4 separate regions of the Homo sapiens genome follow, and all the other regions are linked to region 1. Evidence: promoter capture Hi-C in 16 types of primary human blood cells and fetal thymus (Javierre and others, 2016). All regions are on one chromosome and are shown on one strand. Each heading gives the region's core, a stretch centred on a gene start or on the middle of the fragment in contact. The rest is flanking DNA. Distances are from core to core; before and after follow the strand shown.

Region 1 (3,089 bases), core at 214-2,713:
AAGACTCTCCACTTTGTTTCAGAGGGAGTGGGTATGGTTATTCTGAAGAAGAAGGCGGCCCTTATCCTGAATGCCCGGTAGCCTCCGTGGGCTGGTGGGTGGTTCCTCCGGTCCAGCACCTCCATAATTTATGATCAAATGCCCAAGCCAACAAACTAATCCTCCCCTTCTCCCCCACAAGGAGGCAACCTTTATGTCAGAACAATGTGCCCAGAAGAAGCCAAAGACACAAGGCACATCCAAGGCAAAGACAATCTTAATTAAGCACTTTCTCCTTCCACTTTCTCCACACCTTTACCCCCGGCCCAACCCCTTCCCATAATTTCAAGCTGTACAAAATGAGGTCCTAGGGTGGATCCGGGTGGTCTTTCCTTTCTCTACGGGTAAGCTCTACAAAGAGGCGAAAGCTCCGAGTGTTAGTTCTTGTTTGTGTATAAATTCTGAAAAGCAACGCTGGCCTGCGAGCTATGAAAAGCAGAAGCATGAGTCACCACGCAACGGGTCAATCAAACCTGTAGACCAGAAGGCACGGATCTGGCAAACGGACGGTGAGCCAGGAAAAAAACATCCCCCCAAACCTCTCCGCTGACAGGTTTATCTAGCTGGCTGACCTTGGGCAGGTCACCAGCCGCTCCGAGCACATTCATGTCTAAGATGAGATGGGGGCTGGAAAGCCTTCCAAGAAATAATCCCTTCCGAGTGGTGACGGTCTATGCAACTTTTGAATAAACACATCCTAAGAGGCAACGGAGAAGTTTCTAAAGAGTTGAAATTTTTCAACAAAAGGAGGAGGGAAAAGTGCTCGGTAAAAACACAACGGAGTAACTGGTTTTGGCCTCCGACCAGACGCGAGGGGAGAGAAGAGTGAGAAGTTAGACCCCTGTGATAAAGGGAAAAGGCAGCAGCGGAGACCCGGGCAGGAGCTGCAGCGCCCAGCCGGGGCGAGCTGGGGTGCGCAAGGCCTACCGCGGGTGGGCCCGGCAGGGCAGGGCAGGGCAGGGCGGGGCGGGGCGCCCGCCGCGCTACCCTCCTGGGAAAGGCCGTGGAGGCGCCGGCCGGCGGCTGAGGAGAAACGCCAGCTTTCGGTATGGAATATCGGGAAAGGGCTCTCAGAGCGAAAACTAGCTGCGCCGGCTGCTGGGAAGCCGACGCTGGGCCCGCAGAGAAGGCGCGCGCTCGCGAGGCCCCCCCCAAGTGGATGGGGCGGCGTGGGGGGAGGGGCCGCAAGGGTGGGGGAGGGGAGGTCGCGGGCCTCTCACAATAACACCTCGCAGCCCCTTCCGACCCCCGCCTCTAAGCCACCGGTTCCCTGCGACCCTGGATGCACTCACTGAAGTAGAGGGTCCGTGCGGGCCCCAAGCGGCTGAGGCGTCGGCGGGTGGCGCGTCGGTCGCTCGCTCGGTCCCGTCGGTCCCGCTCCGGCGCGTCCCTCCTCCGGCCCCAGCACCAGCAGCAGCTCCTCCACTTCCGGTTCCCCTGCCACTCAGCCAAATGGCTTCCGGAAGTCCCGCCCCCATCCTGCCACGCCTCAGCGTGGTTCCTCTCTCCCCGCCTTCGCTCTCCCGGGCGCTGGCGGCGTGCGCCCAGGTGTCCCGCCACACCCCGTTGGGTACCCTGCTTTGTTCTCGCGGTTACCCCCATTTTGTGTGGCGTCTGAGGGACATGGGCTTCTCTCTTTACTCCAGCTGCATCTCTCAATCCTGCGTTCGTGCCACCGCAGTGTGGAGCTGGCATTCGGGACGATGTGGCGTGAAGTCACACTGACGCCATTCCCTTCACACTCAGCCAACTTGGCTTCCTCTTCCACCCATGGAATAAACCAGACTGCTGAAAGTGGGAGGGAAATAGCGGACCAAGGTTAAGGAGGCAGTACCTGACATTTATTAGTGGAATTTCTGTTTCTATGATGAATGTGGAGATTTTGGGTGACCGCCTGTAAAGGTGATACATAGGGGGATGACGAACCCCAGGCTTTTCCTTAAAAGATACATCCAGTTTAGGGGAAGACATACATATACAAAGTCAATATTGAAAAGATTATATGCTAAATAAATGCAGGATCTATAAAAGTAGAGAGGAGGGGCAAGAGATGTGCTCAAGCTTATAGCAGCGCAACGGTTGCTGGAGCAGTGCCCTGAACTGGCCCTTTAAGGATCTCAGCTCTATGCTGGTGAATAGGCAGAGCCTTCCAGGGCTCTTAAACTGATGCGGGGGTGGGGGTTGATTTTGCTGACAAAACCTGTTAAGAATACTGTAAAATCCTGGGAGCCTAAAATGTCAAGATATGTCAAGTAATTTTTCTTTTTTTTTTTTTTTTTTATTCAAGTTCTAGGGTACATGTGCACAACGTGCAGGTTTGTTACATAGGTATACGTGTGCCATGTTGGTTTGCTGCACCCATCAACTCGTCATTTACATTCCGTATTTCTCCTAATGCTATCCCTCCCCCAGCCCCGCAGTCCCCGACAGGCCCCCGTGTGTGATGTTCCCCGCCCTTTGTCCAAGTGTTCTCAGTGTTCAATTCCCACCTATGAGAACATGCGGTGTTTGGTTTTCTGTCCTTGTGATAGTTTGCTGAGAATGATGGTTTCCAGTTTCGTCCATGTCCCTGCAAAGGATATGAACTCATCCTTTTTACAGCTGCATAGTATTTCGTGGTGTATATGTGCCACATTTTCTTAATCCAGTCTATCATTGATGGACATTTGGGTTGGTTCCAAGTCTTTGCTATTGTGAATAGTGCCACAATAAACATACGTGTGCATGTATCTTTATAGCAGCATGATTTATAATCCTTTGGGTATATACCCAGTAATGGGATGGCTGGGTCAAATGGTATTTCTAGTTCTAGATCCTTGAGGAATCGCCACACTGTCTTTCACAATGGTTGAATTAATTTACACTCCCTCCAACAGTGTAAAAGTGTTCCTCTTTCTCCACATCCTCTCCAGCATCTGTTGTTTCCTGACTTTTTAATGATCGCCATTCTAACTGGCATGAGATGGTATCTCATTGTGGTTTTGATTTGCATTTCTCTGATGACCAGTGATGATGAGCATTTTTTCATGTGTCTGTTGGTTGCATAAATG
Region 2 (2,806 bases), core at 161-2,660, 260 kb after region 1:
ATGTCCACAGTGTTTCCTGTGAGCAACTTGGATCTTTTCTATCCTCCACCCCCATCACCTCACACCATGGCAAGAGATTCTTACTGAACCCTTCCCGGAGCCGGCTTCAGATAGGGGGTCCTAGAAAACAGCTAAGCATGCTGTCAGCCACACTGTCTATTAGTGCTTAGAAATAAACTAACAGTCTAACTGCTTAGAACTATTATTTGTAATATGATGTTAGTTAACCTGAAAGCTTCAAGACTCAGAGAAAGCCAACAGGATTATCCTAAACGTAGTCGCTCTTTAATCCCAGTTAAATAATTCCCTAAGTAGCAATACAAGTTTTTGTATGATTAGTACAGAGAATGAGAAACAACCAGGGTAGGAAGTCAGTAGATACTTGCTATATTACCAATATGATCTCTCTGGCCCTTGGTAATATACATGTGCTTGGCATTGCTGAATGTCATAGGCCTAAATCCCAAGGCCCATTAGAGAATACTTCAAAAGGATAAGGCATAGCAGAAAATGAATTCATCGGTTATTTAGGCTTTTCTTAGCTTAGACAACCTTCAAGTACCAGAAAGTGTCAGGTGAAGGAAGTTTAGAGTCTGTCCCAGAGTCCTTTTTCTGCTTACGCCTCGTGTTTCTGGGCACAGTTGTATCTCAGTAGACCTGGAGCATAGTCTTCTGATGGAGGCGAGTGCTGGCTGCTTTTCAGCCTGTGAGGCCAGCTGCTATTGCTGTATTACGGGAGATAGCGTGATTGAGAGAATTCCTTATGCACAAGATCCTTCCTTTTCTCAGCTGTTGTCATAGGCTTGAGCTGAGTTTATCTGTTTTTCTTCCTGAAGGGTCTAGAAACTCCAGCAGAGCTGGTATAGTGTTCTAAATGATCACTTGGAAGACCAGAGGGCAAAGCCTCTACCATGTAGCTGCTTCTAGCCAAGTTGAATTCCAGAGTAGCTACATACAGCTGTGTGGGAGGCCATGCTCTGCAAATGGATATAGTTAGCTCAAGAATTCTAAGCTGCTCTCTATTGTCAGTAATGTGTGGAATGAAGTATCCTCACAATTCATGTATATTTCTATGCCTGGTGTTGTTTGTTTGACACAAGTTTCCTTTCATAGGCATCCTGAGATGTACTAAAGACATATATTTTCAAGTTGGAATGACAGTGGCATACATTTAAAAGAGGATTTATTTGAGGCTAGGTTGATTGTATACCACCTAGTTTTTATAATTATGTATGTGTCTTCCTCCTCTCCCCACTAGAATGTAAGCCTCTTGATTATCAGAGCTGTGTTTTACACTCAATACCTTCCATAAAACCTGACAGCCCCTGGTAAGACATAAGCATTCAGTAAGTGTTTTTGAATGAAAAACTGAGTCATCACTACTTAACTATGGAATCTTATATCAGACTCTTGTTTTTTTTTTTTTTTGGGAGACAGATTTTGCCGCCCAGGCTGGAGTGCAGTGGTGCGACCTCAGCTCACGGCAACTTCCGCCTCCTGGGTTCAAGTGATTCTCTTGCCTCAGCCTCCTGGGTGGCTGGGACTACAGGTGCGTGCCACCACACCCAGCTAATTTTTGTATTTTTAGTGGAGACGGGGTCTCGTCATGTTGGCCAGGCTGGTCTTGAACTCCTGGCCTCAAGTGATCTGCCCGCCTCGGCTTCCCAAAGTGCTGGGATTACAGACGTGAGCCACCGTGCCCTGCCAGACTCTTGTATTATATTATTAACATGATCTAAATTATTTATTCATCAAACCACTTGGTTTTATATACTTTTTTTTTTTTTTTTTTTTTAGTGTAGAGACAAGATTTTCATCATGTTGCCCAGGCTGGTCTTGAACTCCTAGGTTCAAGCAATCCGCCTGGCTCTGCCTCCCAAAATGCTGGGATCATAGGCGTGAGCCATCACGCCCAGCCATGGTTTTATGTAGTTTTGTTATATGAGTTATTGTGAAGGTGACCAAGTCAAATGACTTTTAGGTGTAAAAGGGTGTTTTGATCTACTGTAGAGTTTGCTTCCTATTCCTTAAGTAAAATAAGTTTGATCCAGGCCAGTGTTTTTGGATTAAACTTCTCAGAGCATCCCAAAGAGCAGTTTGATAAAACCCTGAGTCTAAATTATAGAAGGATTAAAAGTTGAAACTTGCTGTTTTCTTGAGCTGTTGTGGAAGGTGAAACCTGGCCTGGCTTCATGTGTTGGCAAATATTTCCTCTGATCTGCCCTTCCACCGATGGATGCAAATAACTTAAATTTTTTGAGCACCAGATTCATTCAATATATTTTTTTAACAACATACTTAAAGCCTAGTTTACCCTATTCCCCTGTTGTACCACCTGCTAGCAGACATACTAAGATCGTTTATTTAACTGAAGGAAAATTAATTTACAGTGAAAAAACTGCAGCGTTAGTGAAGGCATAGAGATCTCTTGTGGACAATATTTTTGAGTCTTTATTGATTAGACTTCATTGTGACTTAATTAATTGTAATACTGCATGAGCATTTTATTACTGGGAACGCAAAACCCAGGCTTACATAATGCTTCTGATGGAGAATGTAACCTGCAGCTACTGCCAAAAAGCTTCTACTTAGAGGCAAACAACTCTGCCCTGATAGGCTTACTCATCAAGAACCACACAGCATCTTGCTTGGCTAAAAGCACTTTGTTTAGAACCAATGGGGCAAGGGATTAAATTGGCTCACCCACCAAGTCTCCATATACCGAGGGGCTCAGAGTCCTCAAAGCAGTTTTCTCATACCTTTTGAGACACACTGCACCGCCAGAGAGAAAAATCTATGTAGTGCT
Region 3 (2,759 bases), core at 64-2,563, 290 kb after region 1:
TCACACTGTCACCCATGCTGGAGTGCAGTGGCACGATCTCGGCTCACTGCAACCTACCCCTCCTGGGTTCAAGCGATTCTCCTGCCTCAGCCTCCTAAGTAGCTAGGATTACAGGTGTGCACTACCGCACCCGGCTAATTTTTTTTTGTAGAGACGGGGTTTCACCATGTTGGCCAGGCTGGTCTTGAACTCCTGACTTCAAGTGATCCAACCACCTCGGCCTCACAAAGTGCTGGGATTACAGGCATGAGCCACCATGCCTGGCTTTCAGGTTTCTTTTAAAAACTCCAGAGCTTACATTTTTACTTTACTGAAAAAATCATCAGATAATTTGCTGTTCACTTCTGTCACGAAAGGCTTATAATGCTGTGCCCCCACCACTCTGCAGGCAAGTGGGGGAGCTCACTCTTCTCAACCTTTTTGCCAGGAAGGAATGCCTGCTGTTTCTTTTAATGGTCCCTCCATCTCAACTGTGTTGCACAAGACTCTACTGTAGGTGCTGTGAGAATGCAGAGATGAAAGGATAACCTGTCCTCAGGGAGCTTCTACTCTACTAGGGGATGTAAAACAAGCTCATAAACAGCTTTGCTATGAAGTGCTAGGTACTGAGTGCTGCAAGAAGTATCACTGAGAAGAGCAGAGCTAGTGTGATCTTCTTAGCATTTCTTAAGGGTAGATGAACAGGGATTGTTGGTGTTATTTAGTTACTTTTTGAGTCAGGGTCTTGCTCTGTCACCTAGGCTAGAGTGCAGTGGTGCAACCACGGTTCACTGCAGCCTCGACCTCCTGGGCTCAAGCAGTCCTCCCACCTCAACCTCCTGAGCAGCTGGGACTACAGGCGCGTGCCACTACACCCAGCTAATTTTTTTTTTCCTTTGGTATAGATGGGGTCTTGCTATGTCGCCGGGGCTGATCTTGAACTCCTGGGCTCAAACAATCCTCCCTTCTTGGCCTCCCAAAATGCTGGTATTACAGGCATGAGCCACCACACCCAGCCATATTGGTATTAGTAAAGGAAAATTAGATGCCATCATATCAGTGTCCATGGTTACCTATTTCCTTGATGGCGATTTGCCACCAGCCAGTATGAGGCCAGGCACTGTGAGAGCACTAAGCAGGCAGCATGCCAAAGGTTTCTTCCCAATTTGTAGAAGTGTCAGGATTTCACATGCCCCATGCTGTCCGTAATCTCCCTGCCTGCCACCCTAGAAGGAAAAACAAGGTTTGTCTTTCTTCTATAGTGGTACACACACTTGATCTTTTTGACTTTGCAAATAAACACAGCAGCATAACCAATCTACACCATGAGATTACCAACTGGAACTCACAAAGAAAACCACATCCTCTTCTCTGAGCTCAGTCAGCCTCAGCTTTATTACTCAGGCCTCATAGAGCAGTAAAATGCTGACAGAGTGGGAGGGGTTACCCCAGAACCTTTAAGGGGAGTATGCAGTCACGTTATTGCTCCCATTTTCTCTCAAAACCCAGTAAGTGAGTCAGGACGAGTCAACATTGACAGATTCAATAGAGAATTGTGCAGGTTGCCCCAAAGTTCCCCGGGAAGGTGGGTGGCGTGCATTGTGTCCATTTGTGCACTTTTCCCCTTGTGTGATCGGACGATCATCCCACCTCTGCACTCTCTTAGCTTTAGTTTGATAAATATTCGAGCATGTAGCTCTTGGGAACCATCTTTCCTCCATGACTTTGGTAGCTGCTGAATTGGCATAAAGGGTTGCCAAAGATTTGATCCTGAATGTCATGTTCCTTGGGCAGTGGGTTAGTCTGTTTGTACCCCCCAAAATGGTCGATAGGGTCTTATTTATAGAGTGTCACAAAGGACTTCTAGACTCAGGGTCAGCATTCTTACCAAAAATCAGACTTGACTTATTTGGTCTTTTACAGTTGATTAAAGACTCTTTCACATGTGTTGTCTTTTCGAGCCCCCAAACAACCGTCATTTTTCAGATCAGGAACCTTGAGGAGAAGCTGAAAGATTTGCCAACACTTTGCTGGTGAGGGAGCTGGGTCCTGACTTCAAGTTTTCTGATCCCCTGGTCATGTATTTTTTCCTTTACGCCTCCTTGCCCACTCTGCACCCTCCAAGCACAGCTGCCAAGTGAAAGATGCTAGCCCTTCCAGGTCTTTGACCTACTGATGATACTGAAACTTGAGCAGACAGAGCCCTGGGGTATCCCCTGACTCCTATTAATACTCTTTTTCATCTGGCTTTTAACTGACATTTGTCTGTCCTGAATCAGAGGCTTCTCCTGGAAATTAAAGTTTCCCTGAGTCATTTGTTCATTTACATATGGGTATATTGTCCCTCATAATTCTGCAAGCAGGGTTCTGTGATTAAATCAATTTCCTTGTTTGTTTTTGTCAGCTGACTCAGCACGTCCTTATGCACTCAGAAATAACATCTCTAAACTGAATATAAATCATGCTAGACTTTATTGAGCCTTTACAGTGTAGTAACCTCTATGAAGCACTCCACACCCATGGAGTCAGTCCAGTTGTACAGATAACTAAGACCCAGCAAAGCAAGATAACTTGCCCGAGCTCCTGCTCCTCAGGAAGCAGCTAAGCCAGGATTCACGGCCAACTCTTCCTGACCCCAGAACTTGTGCTCATGACCCTTGTGCTCAACTCCAGCTTGGCTGAGGGATGAGCTCTGGGCTGGGAGTCAGGAAGGCCCCCTACATGATTTGTCAGGTGGTTGCTTGCTCTGTCTTGGTGCCTACAGGCATCAGACCTGAAGG
Region 4 (3,128 bases), core at 92-2,591, 420 kb after region 1:
ACGGTGCCCGGTGGCTTGGCCTCCCTAGCAAGGACTCTGCCCCTTGTTCCTCAGCCTGTCAGGGAGAAGAGGAAGGGCTCTCTCTGGTGCTGTGTCGAGCAGCAGCCTCCCACACGGAGTGGGGAGGGGAAAGTTGAAACGCACCTTGACTCCTGACCATCTCCTCCCCACCCTCACCCCCACCCCCACCACGGCAGACATTGTTGGAAGGCATATTAATGGAGGGGTTAGGCAGTTTGGAGACAGACTGCCTAGGTTCATGTCCTTCTCTATCTCATTCTTGGACATATCACTTAGGGTCTCTGAACCCTGATTTCTCCATTTATAAAATGTGGCTAATAATGTTACTTACCTGTCACATGGTAAATGCTCAATTGAAAAGGCTAACATGAGAATGCCATTTTCTGTTATGTACATGATGCTTCATACAATCACACTGGCGCACATATGCGATTATGTGTGGGCTTTCTGTGCGCTCTGCCCTTCCCCAGCTTTGCTGTCTGTCCTTGTTGCTTCCAGAAGGTTGAGAGGGAGGTGAGGGGTCTGCTCCTGACAATGCTGACTACTGAGGGGCTGAGTGCTGCCCAGGAAAGTAGGTAGCAGAGGAGAGAGGACTTGGCCTAAGCGAGGGAGCCAGGGCCTTACAGAGGAAAGGAAAAGGGGGCAGGGGGAAGGAGGACAGGGAGGGTGGCTGGGTATGGCAGGAGTCAGGGCATCTCAGAGGCATGAAGGAGCTGGGGGTGCTGCCTTCCTACTCGGGCTCACCCGTCCAGCCCCCACACTGCCCTCCACACCAGACACCCAGCAGTGCTGCTAAGGCCACTGGCCAGGGGGTGTGGGCCACCTGCACCTACTGCTTGCCTTTGGGGGAGATTTTTTTTGGGGGGATTCTTGGCTCTCTTGGGTTATGCTCCTCCTTCTGGTGTACCCTAGGCAGGGAAGAGTTTGGGGAGAATGGGAGGCTGCTGTGAGGGTTATAGGTGGGTTACTTCACGGACTCCGTGAGTCTGGGGCTCCTTCTGTGAAGTCTCAGTGACAGGACACGAACCCAAGAACTGTTGGCATGTGGCATCCTTGCCTCAGGAGCTCTTCAGCAAGTGCTGGAGTTCACATGGCCAGCCTGAGGGAGGGGTCTTCTGTGTTCTCTCTGCACCCCTTCCCCTCCCTGCAGCCCAGTGTCCTCAGGGCAGGGGTGGGTGGCAGTGGGGAGGAGGGAGGGGAGATGGTCTGTGATCTCTGGTTGCAGTGAATTTGGGACTAAACATCATTAATGCTGACAGATGCCAGCCATACTAACTTGTAGAATAACAGGACAATCTAGGGGAAAAAAAAATCACTAAAAATATTGACTAAAGGCTTCAGATTTGTGCCTCCTCCCTGCACACCCCAATATGAGATAAATCTCTCTGCATTTATGGACTCCAAGTGTGTCTCAGCATCCCTGAAGTGCCTGCGGGGCGGGTGGCTTGCTCTCCTTGGGTCTGGTTCCCTCTCCTCAATATCCCTGTGAAGTGGGGGCAGGTGGAGGAACATGGAGAAAGAAAGGACAATGGTGTGTGCAGGGCCCTATTGTGGGGAGGGGGCCGGGGTCACCCGCACCACCCCAGGGATGGTGAAAAGAAAGGGTTGGGTTTATGAGCTTCTCTTCTCTCTTTTTCTTTTCAATTACAATGATACCTCAGGTAATTAACTGCTAATAACCTTGTTAATTTAAAATGGATGCTCTCCCTTCTGGCTCTCTCAAGGAAGGCTAAAGCCACCAGGGGTCAGCAGGTTTGGGGGAGCAGGAGAGGGTGGGCAGGAGAGGAGAGGATGCTGGGTGGGAGGCCCTTGTGGTGGGCAGGCAGGGCTGTGGCTGGCTGTGTGGCATGCTCTAAGGGGCCCGGCTGCTGTGGAAGTCCAGAGGTACTGGGATCCCTTCAGCCCCTCCATATTCCTGCACAACAACTGGATGGGTCACCTGGGCCCCCGACCTGGGGAAGAGAGCCTGTGGCTCTCTCCAGCACCGCAAGCCTTTGCCATGGAGCAGCAGCAGCTGCTCAGCCCGAGGCACCTCCCTGTTAGGAACTACCCGGGGCCTTTGGGCTCACGATCCTAGAAACTCACCCTGCTGAGGGTCACGTCTCCCATCCCCACTGCTTCTCAATCGCAGGGATTGGAGATACAGTCAGGAAGGGAATAAATGTCTCATTCTGAACAGTTTAGACATTTGTCAAGAGTCAGGCATCTAGACGAGGTATCTGTGATCTTTTTAGTTCAAATATGTATTCGTTAGACAGACTTTTAAAGTCTAGCCCAGGTCTTAGTGATACAAAGCTGAAGAAAGATAATGGTTCCTGCCTTCAAGGAGCTCATTGTCTCAGTGAAGTAAACAAATAATTACAACACAAACTGTGCAGAGCGTAGGGGAAAAAAAATACCTAATCTTGTAGGGTGTGGGCAGTCAGGGCAGGTTTTCCAGAGGAGGGGTATTTAAACTGGGCACTGATGAAACAGGAGGAGCTCCCTAGGCTGCTAAGATGGAGTGTAGGAAGGCCTGAAGGCAGGAGGGATGGCAGGAAGCATGAGAGGCTGTGGCTGCTGGGGAATGGGCAGTGCCTTGATAGGGATGAAACACAGGGAGAATGAGGAGGCAGCTGGAAAGAGAAGCGGGAGCCAGGTCATGAAGGGTTGATAGGATTTCTTCTAAGAGGTGACCTCCCTTGCCCATGGGATCTTAGCCCAGGCAACTGGGGGGCCACTCCCTATGGCCTGGTTCCCAAGGAGGCTCCTTCCTTGTGGGATTAACTCCTAGAAGGCGTGGCAAGGAGATCCCTGTTCCCCTGCCCTTTTTCTTAGAGGACAGGGGATTTTAGAGTGAAAGAGTGGGTGTTGGGGTGGGAAGGGGAGGAGAAATGGAGATTTAGAGATAAATAGAGCCCTGATTTGGTTTTTCCAAGTGGCTTCTTTCTGTCCCACAGTGCTTTGAGACCATTTTGGAGCCTGAGCGCATGAGTCTTGGAGTGTGTCTAGGGTGTCTGCACCCTCCCTGGGCAAAGCCACTGTTCAAAGCTAGGGATTTCTGTTCCCAGTGAGCTCCCACTCTGCTGCTGTGGGTCCCTGAGCTCCGCCTGGCAGTGCCCACCATC

Evidence for each region. Contacts are between HindIII fragments. The CHiCAGO score rates a contact against its expected background, and 5 or more counts as called.
Region 2: a fragment that was not itself captured here is called in contact with the fragment with the promoter of PAFAH1B2 in region 1 in 16 of 17 cell types (total B cells, total CD8 T cells, naive B cells and 13 more); the score reaches 15.1 in total B cells.
Region 3: a contact is called between a fragment that was not itself captured here and the fragment with the promoter of PAFAH1B2 in region 1, in 17 of 17 cell types (total CD8 T cells, naive CD8 T cells, naive CD4 T cells and 14 more). The highest score is 23.1, in total CD8 T cells.
Region 4: a contact is called between a fragment that was not itself captured here and the fragment with the promoter of PAFAH1B2 in region 1, in 1 of 17 cell types (erythroblasts). The highest score is 5.1, in erythroblasts.

Annotation. Positions count from the first base shown.
Region 1 is chr11:117,142,661-117,145,749 of GRCh38, reverse strand. It overlaps PAFAH1B2 (platelet activating factor acetylhydrolase 1b catalytic subunit 2), which reads right to left and starts at 1,463. Exons shown (of 6, transcript NM_002572.4): 1 at 1,332-1,463. RefSeq lists an enhancer at 204-383 and a silencer at 934-1,253. The HindIII fragment of the contact is 2,379 bases long and covers 1-2,102 here.
Region 2 is chr11:116,886,235-116,889,040 of GRCh38, reverse strand. All of the region lies in intron 6 of SIK3 (SIK family kinase 3), which reads left to right. Among named protein-coding and RNA genes, the nearest start is that of APOA1, 50 kb to the right of the region's middle. The HindIII fragment of the contact is 2,346 bases long and covers 238-2,583 here.
Region 3 is chr11:116,852,316-116,855,074 of GRCh38, reverse strand. The region is part of intron 21 of SIK3 (SIK family kinase 3); the gene reads left to right. It also overlaps APOA1-AS. Among named protein-coding and RNA genes, the nearest start is that of APOA1, 16 kb to the right of the region's middle. RefSeq lists a silencer at 2,047-2,116. The HindIII fragment of the contact is 5,012 bases long and covers 1-2,759 here.
Region 4 is chr11:116,722,524-116,725,651 of GRCh38, reverse strand. No RefSeq gene overlaps it. Among named protein-coding and RNA genes, the nearest start is that of BUD13, 49 kb to the left of the region's middle. The HindIII fragment of the contact is 6,964 bases long and covers 1-3,128 here.